Regions from separate parts of the Homo sapiens genome. Here regions 1 and 2 are each linked to region 3. Evidence: promoter capture Hi-C in 16 types of primary human blood cells and fetal thymus (Javierre and others, 2016). All regions are on one chromosome and are shown on one strand. The core of a region is centred on a gene start or on the middle of the fragment in contact, and the rest is flanking DNA. Distances in the headings are between cores, read along the strand shown. Region 1 holds the start of NCOA6 (nuclear receptor coactivator 6). Region 2 holds the start of MMP24-AS1-EDEM2 (MMP24-AS1-EDEM2 readthrough). Region 3 holds the start of AHCY (adenosylhomocysteinase).

What was found. Contacts are between HindIII fragments. The CHiCAGO score rates a contact against its expected background, and 5 or more counts as called.
Region 1: a contact is called between the fragment with the promoter of NCOA6 here and the fragment with the promoter of AHCY in region 3, in 1 of 17 cell types (activated CD4 T cells). The highest score is 8.3, in activated CD4 T cells.
Region 2: the fragment with the promoter of MMP24-AS1-EDEM2 here is called in contact with the fragment with the promoter of AHCY in region 3 in 1 of 17 cell types (neutrophils); the score reaches 6.4 in neutrophils.

The regions. Positions count from the first base shown.
Region 1 is chr20:34,823,485-34,827,096 of GRCh38, forward strand. It overlaps NCOA6 (nuclear receptor coactivator 6), which reads right to left and starts at 2,167. Exons shown (of 15, transcript NM_014071.5): 1 at 1,988-2,167. RefSeq lists silencers at 1,634-2,073, 2,084-2,273. The HindIII fragment of the contact is 10,135 bases long and covers 1-2,571 here.
Region 2 is chr20:35,276,587-35,280,130 of GRCh38, forward strand. It overlaps MMP24-AS1-EDEM2 (MMP24-AS1-EDEM2 readthrough), which reads right to left and starts at 1,536. Exons shown (of 15, transcript NM_001355008.2): 1 at 1,460-1,536. It overlaps MMP24 (matrix metallopeptidase 24), which reads left to right. Exons shown (of 9, transcript NM_006690.4): 9 at 1-412. MMP24OS (MMP24 opposite strand) reads right to left here and starts at 1,536. Exons shown (of 2, transcript NM_001355003.2): 1 at 1,423-1,536; 2 at 1-1,346. The coding sequence starts at 1,343. The coding sequence ends at 1,128. It overlaps EIF6 (eukaryotic translation initiation factor 6), which reads right to left. Exons shown (of 7, transcript NM_002212.4): 5 at 3,356-3,532; 6 at 2,980-3,161; 7 at 2,332-2,620. The coding sequence ends at 2,611. RefSeq lists enhancers at 1-79, 666-765, 886-1,055 and silencers at 1,186-1,405, 1,496-1,715. The HindIII fragment of the contact is 17,447 bases long and covers 1-3,544 here.
Region 3 is chr20:34,301,373-34,304,607 of GRCh38, forward strand. AHCY (adenosylhomocysteinase) reads right to left here and starts at 1,983. Exons shown (of 10, transcript NM_000687.4): 1 at 1,871-1,983. The coding sequence starts at 1,898. RefSeq lists a silencer at 1,358-1,587 and enhancers at 2,158-2,207, 2,228-2,347. The HindIII fragment of the contact is 32,031 bases long and covers 1-3,235 here.

The DNA.
Region 1 (3,612 bases), core at 917-3,416, 520 kb after region 3:
TTGATTATATGGGGCCCTGGACCTATTTTCCATGACTAATTTGCATATTTCCTTCAGAACTCTCCCATAGCCCATGCGAACTTTGAATTCTTCTCTAACATGATCCAACTTCAATTAATAAAATAGAGACTCTGGGTGTCTACAATTTTTCACTTTTCTTTTTTAGGATTTTGTGTTCCTTTGTGGTAAACACCTAGAAGAGAAGGAGCATCTCTCTTTTTTTTTTTTCTTTAGACAGTGTCTTGCTCTGTCGCCCAGGCAGGAATGTCATGGAATGACCATAGCATGGCTCATTGCAGCCTTGACCTCCCAGGCTCAAGCGATCCTCCCACCTCAGCCTCCTGAGTAGCTGGGACTACAAGTACAAGCCACATCAGGTGGCTAATTTTTTTTATTTCTTTTGTAGAGATGGGGTCTGCCAGCTCCTGGGCTCAAGAAATCCTCCCACCTTGGCCTCCCAAAGTGTTGGGATTACAGGCGTGAGCCACTGTGGCTGGCCGGAGCACCTCTTAAAACTCTAGAAAGTTAGAAGGTCTCAAAGATAACTTCTTTGCACAATTAGAGATGAACCAGGAAATACCAAATAACTGGCTGCCTATACTTTTTTGTATTCCCTTCAGCCTTTGTATTGCCACACTCATTACAGGAAGAAAACAAATTTAATAGTTATCTGGTATATACTGTTATGCTTCATTTCTTGTTGTTTTTGTTTGTTTGCTTTTAGTTTCATCACAAGAATGTTATGCTTCATTTCTTAACACCTTTCTCCCAGCTAGCAAATTCCTTTAAGGCAATGTGTTTAGTGAGGAAGCAGCCGACAATTTCTAGTACCCCTCTGCCACTAACTTGTAAGATCTTGAAAAGTCAACTTTACCTTTCTATGTTTCAGCTAAAATCACTACCTGATTTGAAATCTTTACTTGATCTCTCAGGCCTTTGTAGTTTTTATACATTCACTCTTCTTCACCATTTTACTGGCTTCAATAACGCCTTTCTGATGACCTCTCCAGGTGACTCTGCTCTTAAGCTGTGGGCTGTCCCCTTCCAGGGAAGACACCTTGGGTCACCGCCCCCAAACAGCCAGGTCCCTCCTTTTAAAGACACACACAACTCCCTAAGTTGATAAAGGTTCTCTCCTTCCTTGCCAACCAGTTCCACTCTCTGTGCCTCTTTTGCTGGCCAGCTCCTGCACCCAAACCTCAGTCTCCCTTTGTCCCCCTTTTCTCTCATCAAACACCTCCTTTTTCCTGTTGCTTCCCCCAAGAGGGGGTGGAGGATGCTTGGGACATAAGTCTTCAGAGCCTTGGGAGTTATACAGCTTTGCAATTCAGCCCCAGTACCCCAAGGACTGCCCCAATCTGAACCAGCGTCTGTACCCAAAGGGCCCTCATTCCTCATCAATCACCTCCTTCCCTCCCAGCAAAGAACTGCTCCAGCCCTGACAGCCTGAGCTTGGCCCCCATGCCTCCACCCCAATCCCCAGGTCCTACCTGCATTAGGGCTCTAACACCGCCTAAGGCCTAACCCAGTTCCACGTCCTGCCATCCTCTCAGCCCATAGACCCCAATCCCGGTTCCCTTCGGACCCAGTGTTCCTTCTCCGCGACCCTGACCACGACCCCACGACCGGCTCCCGCCTGTTCCCCAGGCCTGGAGCGCCACCCCGTGCAGACCCCGGCCAGCCCTGCACTCCCTCAGTGCACCGGCCCCCGCGCCCAGCACCCTCCCCACCCAGCCCGGCCGCCGCTCCCTCCAGCGCCCCCGCCCGCAGGCCTGGGGCCCGCTCCCCAACATGGCGACGGGGACACAAGCGCGGCGGGCGGGGCGGCTCCGGGCCGGGCCCGCTCTCAGACCGTGCCACTCGGTCGCCCGGCGCCATTTTTCCGCGCGGGCCCGGGCGGCGCCTCCTCCCCGCGAAGCCAGCCCGACAAGGACCGCGGACGCCCGGCGGGCCCACCCCTTACGGGCCCGCGCCGCCGTCCCCTCACCTGAGCGCGGCCCCGGCCCTCCCGGGCGGGCCTTGGAGCGCCGGCCCGGGCCGTGCGTGCCCGCCGCCCTCGGTGCGTCCGTCCGTCAGTCCTCGCGTGCGCCCGTCTGTCCCGCCGCCCGCGCCCGGCCGCCCGCAGCCCGACCCGGCAGGGCCTCACGGAGCCGGCGGGGAGGGGGATGGGCCGGACCGGGCCGGGGAGGGAGGGGGAGGGAGGGAGAGAGGGAGGGAGCGCGAGAGGGGGCGGGGCGGACTCGAGGGGCGGGGCATTGCCCACGTGACCAGACGTCCCCGGGAGCGCGAGGTGGAGCGCGCGCCAGCTCCCTTCGGTGCTGAGTGCTTAGTGCTGGGATCTCGTGGGTCTCTGTCGGCTTTCCAGGGCTATTCTCTCGCCAGTGAGTCCCACTTCGGAAGCACACATTGCACAGTCTTTTGCGAGCGCTCTGAGTATCCTTGGACATGGCAACTCCAAGCCTCAGTTTACCCATCTGAAATATGGGGAAAATCATAGTGCTTGTGAAGAGCAAATGGAGGTGGGCTTGGAAAGCACTTGTCACCGTGCCTGACACATACTGTCTAATAATAAGCTTAATGGGATATAGATAAAAGCTTTCATTATTATTTGCCTCTAAATCCCTCTCTTCTTTTTCCCATCATTACCTCCCTAGCAAGCTAAAATGCTCAGTAAATAGAATTATTGATCGAACGAGTGTGGCCCCTCCCCTCTTCCCAAACGTAGAAAGGCCTCCTCAGCACTGGACTTCATGTCTGTCATACAGGCCTGGATTCATATCTGGCTTTCACTCTTTTTTAAAAATTTTCTGTTTTTTCCCACACTACACTGATGTATTTTTTAAATTTTCGTAAGTACGTAGTAGGTGAATATATTTATGGGGTACATGAGATTTTGATACAGGCATGCGATGTGTAATCACATCATGGTAAATGGGGTATCTAGCAACTCAAGCATTTATCCTTTGTGTTACAAATAACCCAATTATACTCTAGTTATTTTAAAATGTACAAGTAAATTTTGTGTGTGTGTGGTTTTTTTTTTGTTTTTTGTTTTATTTTTGTTTTTTTGAGACGGAGTCTCACTCCGTCGCCCAGGCTGGAGTGCAGTGGCGCGATCTCAGCTCACTGCAACTTCCGCCTCCCTGGTTCAAGGGATTCGCCTGCCTCAGCCTCCTGAGTAGCTGGTACTACAGGCGCATGCCACCACGCCCAGCTAATTTTTGTATATTTTTTAAGTAGAGATGGGGTTTCACCATATTGGCCGGGCTGGTCAGGAACTCCTGACCTCATGATCCGCCCGCCTCTGCCCCTCAAAGTGCTGGGATTATAGGCGTGAGCCACCGCGCCCGGCCAATTGTTTTTTACTGTAGTCACCTTCTTGTGCTAGCAAATACTAGGTCTTATTCTTTCTAACTATTCTTTTGTACCCGTTAATCATTCCCACTTCCCACCTACCTCCCCATTAATCTTACCAGCCTCTGGTAACCCTCCTTCTATTCTCTATCTCCATGAGTTCAATTGTTTTAATTTTTCGCTCCTGGCCCGGCATGGTGGCTCACGCCTGTAATCCTAGCACTTTGGGAGGCCAAGATGGGCGGATCACCTGAGGTC
Region 2 (3,544 bases), core at 286-2,785, 970 kb after region 3:
CCCTTCCCCCACTTCCTGGTCCCTGTCCACTCCTCAGGTTGGTGCTCTCACTTCTTGAAAGCTCTAGGCACCCCCGCCTCCCGCCAGGCTCCCCATTGGCTCCTGGCAGGCCAGCTGAGAATGAACAGGAGATGGAGGCAGGCAGCCCAGGCTGCAGAGGTGAGGGATGTGGGGCCAGGCCCAGAGGGCTCAGCCTAGAGGCTTCCAATCTCAGATTCTCCTGCCTGTGGTCATCTGTTTGTCCATCACCCCAGGACAGGGCAGACAGAGGGGCAAAGCACTGGGGGCCCCAGAGCCTAGCTTCCCCTCAGCCTGGGGGACATCACAGCATTTCAGTGTCAGTCACATTTTAAACTGATCAGCCTTTGTATAATGTTTTTTAAATCATTTCTAAATAAAACAGAAATACAGAGTGTGTCATTTCCCTGGGATGAGGGAACAAAGATCAGGTTCCAAGAGTAACCTTAGGACGCTCTGGGAAGAGAACCGGGTCCTTTGGGGTGTCTGGGAGCTGCCCACCCATCTCCTCTGCCAGACCGGCGGTCAGATAGCCTCCCTCTACAACAGGCTGGCCCTGGGGGCCCAGGGTTATTGGGGTTCCAGGAACACAGCCTGATGATGCCTCCTTACGATCCAGGATGGAGAGCAGCCCCCCCAGGAGTATGGGGAGGGTCACTGTGGCACGGGCTTCTCCATGACCTGGGACATGACCTGGGACACATAGTCAAGAGCACGGTTATCAGCAATACAGATATTAATAAAAGGCAGACGAAGTCAGGAGGTCAGCAACTTTGCGGGCTTACCAGGAGGCCTGTCCTGCCTCTGGAAGCCAGCGACAGAGAGGGATGCCCCCGACCCAGCCAGCCGGAGAAAGGGATGGGGTGGTCACGAAGGTCTGAGCTGGGTCTGGGTGTAGGCTGGGAAGCAGGCTGGGGTGTAGACTGCGAAGGCGGCCCTGCCGGGACTTCTTTCCAGTCCCCGGCGACCTCTTCGAATTCTCTGCTATCTCTGGGGAGCCTCGGGTGGGAGGGGGTGTAAGAGACGCAGGGACGTGGGGAGAGGAGACAAGGCAGGCAAGAACCACAGGGGACGGCGGACAGACGGGCGACATCCTGCGGAGGACGCCGTCAGTACCAGGAAGTGCAGGCGATGAGGAAGCGCACGTCGTCCAGCGGCCCCCACGGGCTGGGCTCGGGCTGGGGCTGGGGCTGGGGCTGGGGCTGGGGCTGGGGCGGATGCCGGGGCTGTTCCGGGCCCTCCGGCGCCGCAGGCTGGGGCTGGGGCTGGGGCTGGGTTTGCGCAGGCTCCGGGGCGCCGCGGCCGCCGCTTAGCTGAGCCCCCATGGTCTGCAAGAAGAGAAGCCCTTTAAGGTCTGGGTCGCCGGGACACCCCGCTAGGGCCCCGCCCCGGCTCTGCCCTCACCTCTCGCAGCCAGACCCGCGGGTCTCCCGGAACCCACCTCGGCGTCGGGAGGAGCTGGCGCCGTGACGCCACCACCGCGTACCGACCTCACCCTCCGTGCGTTGGAGCGGAAAGAAGGGACTCGACCCTGTGCTTCGGGGCGGGGCTCCGCGACCGTCCCCCGCCAATCCCGCCCCAGCGCCTCAAGGCCCCGCCCCGCGCAAGGGGACGGAATGCACCCCAACAGCCTCCAAGACGCCCAGGCCAGGAGGACGCTGGGAACCCGCTGCCCCGCCCCACGCCCACCCAGGAAAAGACCTGCAACCTCCATCCACCTTAGTCAAAGAATGCCCCGAAGCCAGATGCCCCAGAGCTCTCACAGGGGACTTGCCCAGCTCAGGGGAAAATCGGAACGGACTCTCTGCCTTTCAAGGCCAGAGAAGACCGGCGCAGAAGTCGGGTGAAAACTGTGAGAACTAGACCGGGCGCCGTGGCTCACGCCTGTAATCCCAACACTTTGGGAGGCCGAGGCGGTGGGTCGCTTGAGTTCAGGAGTATAAACCAGCCTGGGCAACACAGTGACTTCGTTTCTACAAAAAAATAAACGAGGCGAGAGGATCGCTTGAGCCCAACAGGTCAAGGCTACAGTGAGCCATCCTTGCGTCACAACACTCCAGCCTGGGTGACAGAGGGAGACACTGCCTCAAAAAGAAAAAAGAAAAAAGGAGAACTGTAGTGGAGAGTGTTTCTTGCCCCAGGATGAAGCCTCACATCCTGATGGTAGAGGAGAAGGGAATGGCGTGTGTGGAGGTGGTGAACTGGGTTGGGTGTGTGTTGTGTTCATCCCACCCTATCTTCCCAGAATGCTGGAACAACTGGAGAGTGCAGGGATTGTACACAGGCTGAGGGCCCCAAACATCACATTCAGAATGGCCCGGAGGGAACTGCACTTTAATGGGGTGGCACAGGACAGCAGAACCCTCAGCCAGCAGCCACAGGGCCTGCCAGCCAGCACAACAGAGCAGGTTTTTGCAGTAATGATAGATCCAGGCGATAAGCACAGGTGGAAAAGGGTTGGGTGCCCAGCCCCTCAGTCCCAGTGAGCTCTCTGCCACCTCCCTGCCAGCATCCGGTACAGATTGGGCGGAATGTGGAGAAGGTTGGCCACAGTCCAGAGCCAGGAGCCCATGGAACAACTTGGAAGGTGACTCAGGTGAGGCTGAAGAGAAAGGAAAGCGCACGGTCAGTAGCTGTTTCACAGAGCCCACCTCACTCTCAAGTGAGGTGCCTGCCTCAGCCCTCATCCCGGGACCAGCTCTGACAAGCTGCTCAAGCAGCTACTGCTCTAGTATCCTAGCCCTGAAAAACCACAAAGATGAGGATTAGCAGATGCTCAAGAAATATTTTTTGAATATGCTGGCTCTTATCTGCTCAGCAGTGTACAGATATGCTCTCACACTCGAGAAGCTACCAGAACAAACTGGTAGGCTCCCATTCTAGATGACATCTTTTCCCCATACTCTCAAAATGCAAGTTAACCCCCAACCCTGAGCAGAAGAAAGGAGAGGCCCCAGGTACCTGTCAATGAGGGAATCCCGCATGCTGGTGGCAATGGTGCTAGGCTGGGCTTCATTCAGCTTGAAGACACTCTCCACCACTGACAGCTCTGTGCTGGTTGTGTCCAGGCCACAGAAGGCACACCAGTCATTCACCACCATCCCAGCAGCAATCACCTCACTGCCTCGGTTCACAGTCCCCGCCTGCCAAGGGATGGGCTCAATGTGAGTCACGGCACCAAATTCTCTCCCTCCTCAATGAAGACTCTCCCCAAACCCTGCTCCTCCCTGACCTGCAGCCCCAGTCCCAAACTGTGGCAGGTAATGACCCAGACTCCCAAACACTAGGCAAAAGGATCTGCCTCGGGAGACGGGGTTCAGAGGACAGGAATGCTTACCACAAGGGGGACTTGAAGAAGAGAGGACAGCTCATCCTGGTCTTCAATTGAAGTCTTGGGATGCACCAGCCCTCCCTGATTGCTGAAGACACAGTAGCTTCCTACTAGCACCTGGTCGGCCACTGTCTGTCTGAAGACTTCCACCTTGAGCACATCTGCCAGAATTTCTTCTGTCTCCTGTCAATCAAA
Region 3 (3,235 bases), core at 733-3,232:
GACCCTCAACTCCAAAGGCACAGGAGAGGCTAGATGCTGCAATCTCTGGAGCTAAGGACTTGCAAAAGTCACAGGAACACCTGTCCCCAGGACAAGCCAAGAGGAACAGCAAGAGCCCCTGTAAACATCAGTTTCTTCATCTGTAAAGTGTGGATAATCATCCCTAGCTTGCTATGCGCCTTAAGTAAAGATAATGCCATATGATCAAGATCTGGCATACAGCAGGGCCTCCTTCCTCCAGCCCCACCCAGCTAAGCTCCCCATCCCCAAATCCAGCTTTATCTCCACCCACACAACCCAATGGCCCCAATCCTGACCCACTAATCTCTCCACAGTATGACAAGCCCCCATTCCAGCTCTACTATTGATGTGACCTTCACATAACCTTTCTGGGTTCAGTTTCAGCATCCACACAATGGAGACAGTCTACTCTGGTAGCAACTTGATGAACTACTTCAACAGAATCTTTGCAAGTCACCTCCCAAGGGCCTCAGTTTCATGCTCTATATAACGGGATTACGTCCACCTCTATGAAGATTATTGTGTAAACACACGTAAATCACCAGATATACAGCAAGTGTTTCCATAAATGTGGATGGCATTCTCCAGACTTAATAGTGTCTTTTTTTGTTTGTTTTTTTTTTTTGAGACAGGGTCTTGCTCTGTTGCCCAGGTTGGAGCGTGGTGGTGCAATCTCGGCTCACTGCAACCTCCGTCTCCCCGGCTCAAACAGTCCTCCTGCCTCAGCCTCCCGAGTAGCTGGGAATGAAGGCGCCCGCCACCACGCCCAGCTAGTTTTTGTATTTTTGGTAGAGATAGCGTTTCACCACGTTGGCCAGGCTGGTCTCGAACTCTTGACCTCAAGTGATTCGCCCACCTCGGCCTCTCAAAGTGCTGGGACTACAGGGGTGAGCCACCACACCCGGTCCAATAGTGTCAAAGTTACTTGAAAAGCTACCAGCCAAACTGAACTGGTTTTTGCTGAAAATTCACTAGGATTGTTCCGCGTGTATTCGCTTGCACACAGTGGTGAAAGGGTGCGCTCAGAGATCTAGATGGCCTGCGTTCCAATCTTGCTCCATCACCACCAGCTGTAAGACTGAGGGCAAGTTACCTCTGCCTCAGGATTCTCATCATAAAATGAGAACAGTTTCCCTATAGAGCCATGAGACTAGAATAAAGCTAGAAGGCAGTGCCGATCCCACAGGAAACACTAAGTAAACGTTAACTATCCCTGTATTACACTTCAATCGGTGGGACAGCAGGATTTTTCAAACCACTCCAAATTTTCTTCGAGATTTCTGCAAGGCTGCCCCTGCTGGAGGGGTGGGGGACCCCACAGGTTGGGTAACTGGCCCAAAGTCCCAGGGGAGAGGAGGATCGGAGCCGGCCTGGGGCTCGCTTTCCAGGCCTCTCCTCATACACCCTCCGGGGTGCCCTCGCCGTCCCTGTAGGAGGCCCAGAGAGGGGTGGACGCTCGTCGGGGCCGCCCAGCTGGACAGGGTCCGGTCCAGGCCTAGGAGGCCGGGCGCAGGCCCCCCGAGCAGGGTCCGGCAGGTGCCAGCCGTCCCAGGCCGTGGCCAGGTGTGCTCTCCCGCGGAGCACGCCGCCAGTTTGCGGCTCGCAGACCGCGCGGCGGCCCCGGCGTCGCGGGGCATGCTGGGACTTGTAGTCCACGGCCACCCGGAACGGCCCGCTCATGGCCGCGCGAGAACTCCAACTTCCAGCTGGCTTCGCGCGGCCAGAAACGCGCCGAGGCTGCGATTCCAGGGGGTCCAGAGAGCCCCGAGTCGGCCCTGCAGCCCCCGCCACGAACAAGCCCCGGGCGGGTGCCGGGCGGCCGCAACCGGCTGCAGGTCCTGGGACTCACCGACTTTGTAGGGCAGTTTGTCAGACATGCTGGCGGCACTCGTGATGGAAACGGGCGAAGGGGGCTGGGCCTCAGTCTGGGAACAGGAACTGGGCGGGCAGCGCCGAGCAGGGATATGCGCGTGGCGCCGACGCCTTTAAATATCTTCCTCGCACTTGCATATTCATGACCCGCTGGGGCGGGGCCCAACGCGCAGGGCGGAGCCGGAGGGGATTTCGATCCCTGAAAAGAAGCCTCAGAATTTCACAAGGCGTGGCCCCAGGAGTCTCACTCACCGGTCCGGAAGGGAGCGCCGGGAGAGGCCTGAGAGCCAGCCGGGCCGTCCTCTCGCTGGTTCAGCCAGTTGATTCAGTGTCAAAACCCAGCGGAACTGAAATTCCGCCAGTTCACTTCCCTGTGCCTCAATTTCCTCATCTGTAAAATGGGCCAAATGACATCTGCCACACAGATTATTATAAGTAAAGTTGCAGGCCAGGCGCGGTGGCTCACACCTGTAATCCCAGCACTTTGGGAGGCCAAGGCGGGAGGATCGCTTGAGCCCAGGAGTTCAAGACCATCCTGGGCAACACAGTGAGACCTGAACTCTACAAAAAAAAATTAAAAATTAGCCGGGCGTGGTGGCGCGCGCTTGTGGTCCCAGCTACTTGGGACGCGGAGGCGGGAGGGAGGATCTTTTGAGCCTGGAGATCGAGGCTGCAGTGAGCTATCATCCCACCACAGCACTTGAGCCTGGGCGAAAGGGCAAGACCCTATCTCAAAAAAACCAAAACAAAGTTAAGTTGCCATTTGTCAGGTACCTACTGACATCCCAAACATTCGCCTTACTCCAAGTAACCAACACCCTGAATTTAAGTAAGTTTGCATACATTTCTTATACTTTTACTGCATCCGTATATCATTAAATAGTTCTGTGTTTAGCACCTTTATATATCAACCGTATTTACCCTTCTGCAACTTGCTTTTTTCTGTGAGCATTATATTTATGAGACTCATGCATATAGCTTGAGTATATTCATTTTTGCTGCTGTATAATTCAGTCATCCCAGGCATGGGAAGGGGAAATTGGTTTCAGGACCTCTGTGGACTCCAAAACCCTTCTATGTTCAAGTCCCTCATATAAAATGAGGCAGTATTGGCATATAACCTATGCACATTCCTCCGTACACTTTAATCATCTCTAGATTACTTATAACTAATATAATGTAAATGCTATGCAAATGGTTGTTTTGTAATTTGTATTATTTTTATAGTTATGTTTTTTTAATTGCTTTTTTTCCCCTGAATTTTTTTTTTTTTTTATGGAGTCTCACTCTGTCGCCCACACTGGAGTGCAGTGGCACCATCTAGGCTCGCTGCAACCTCCAC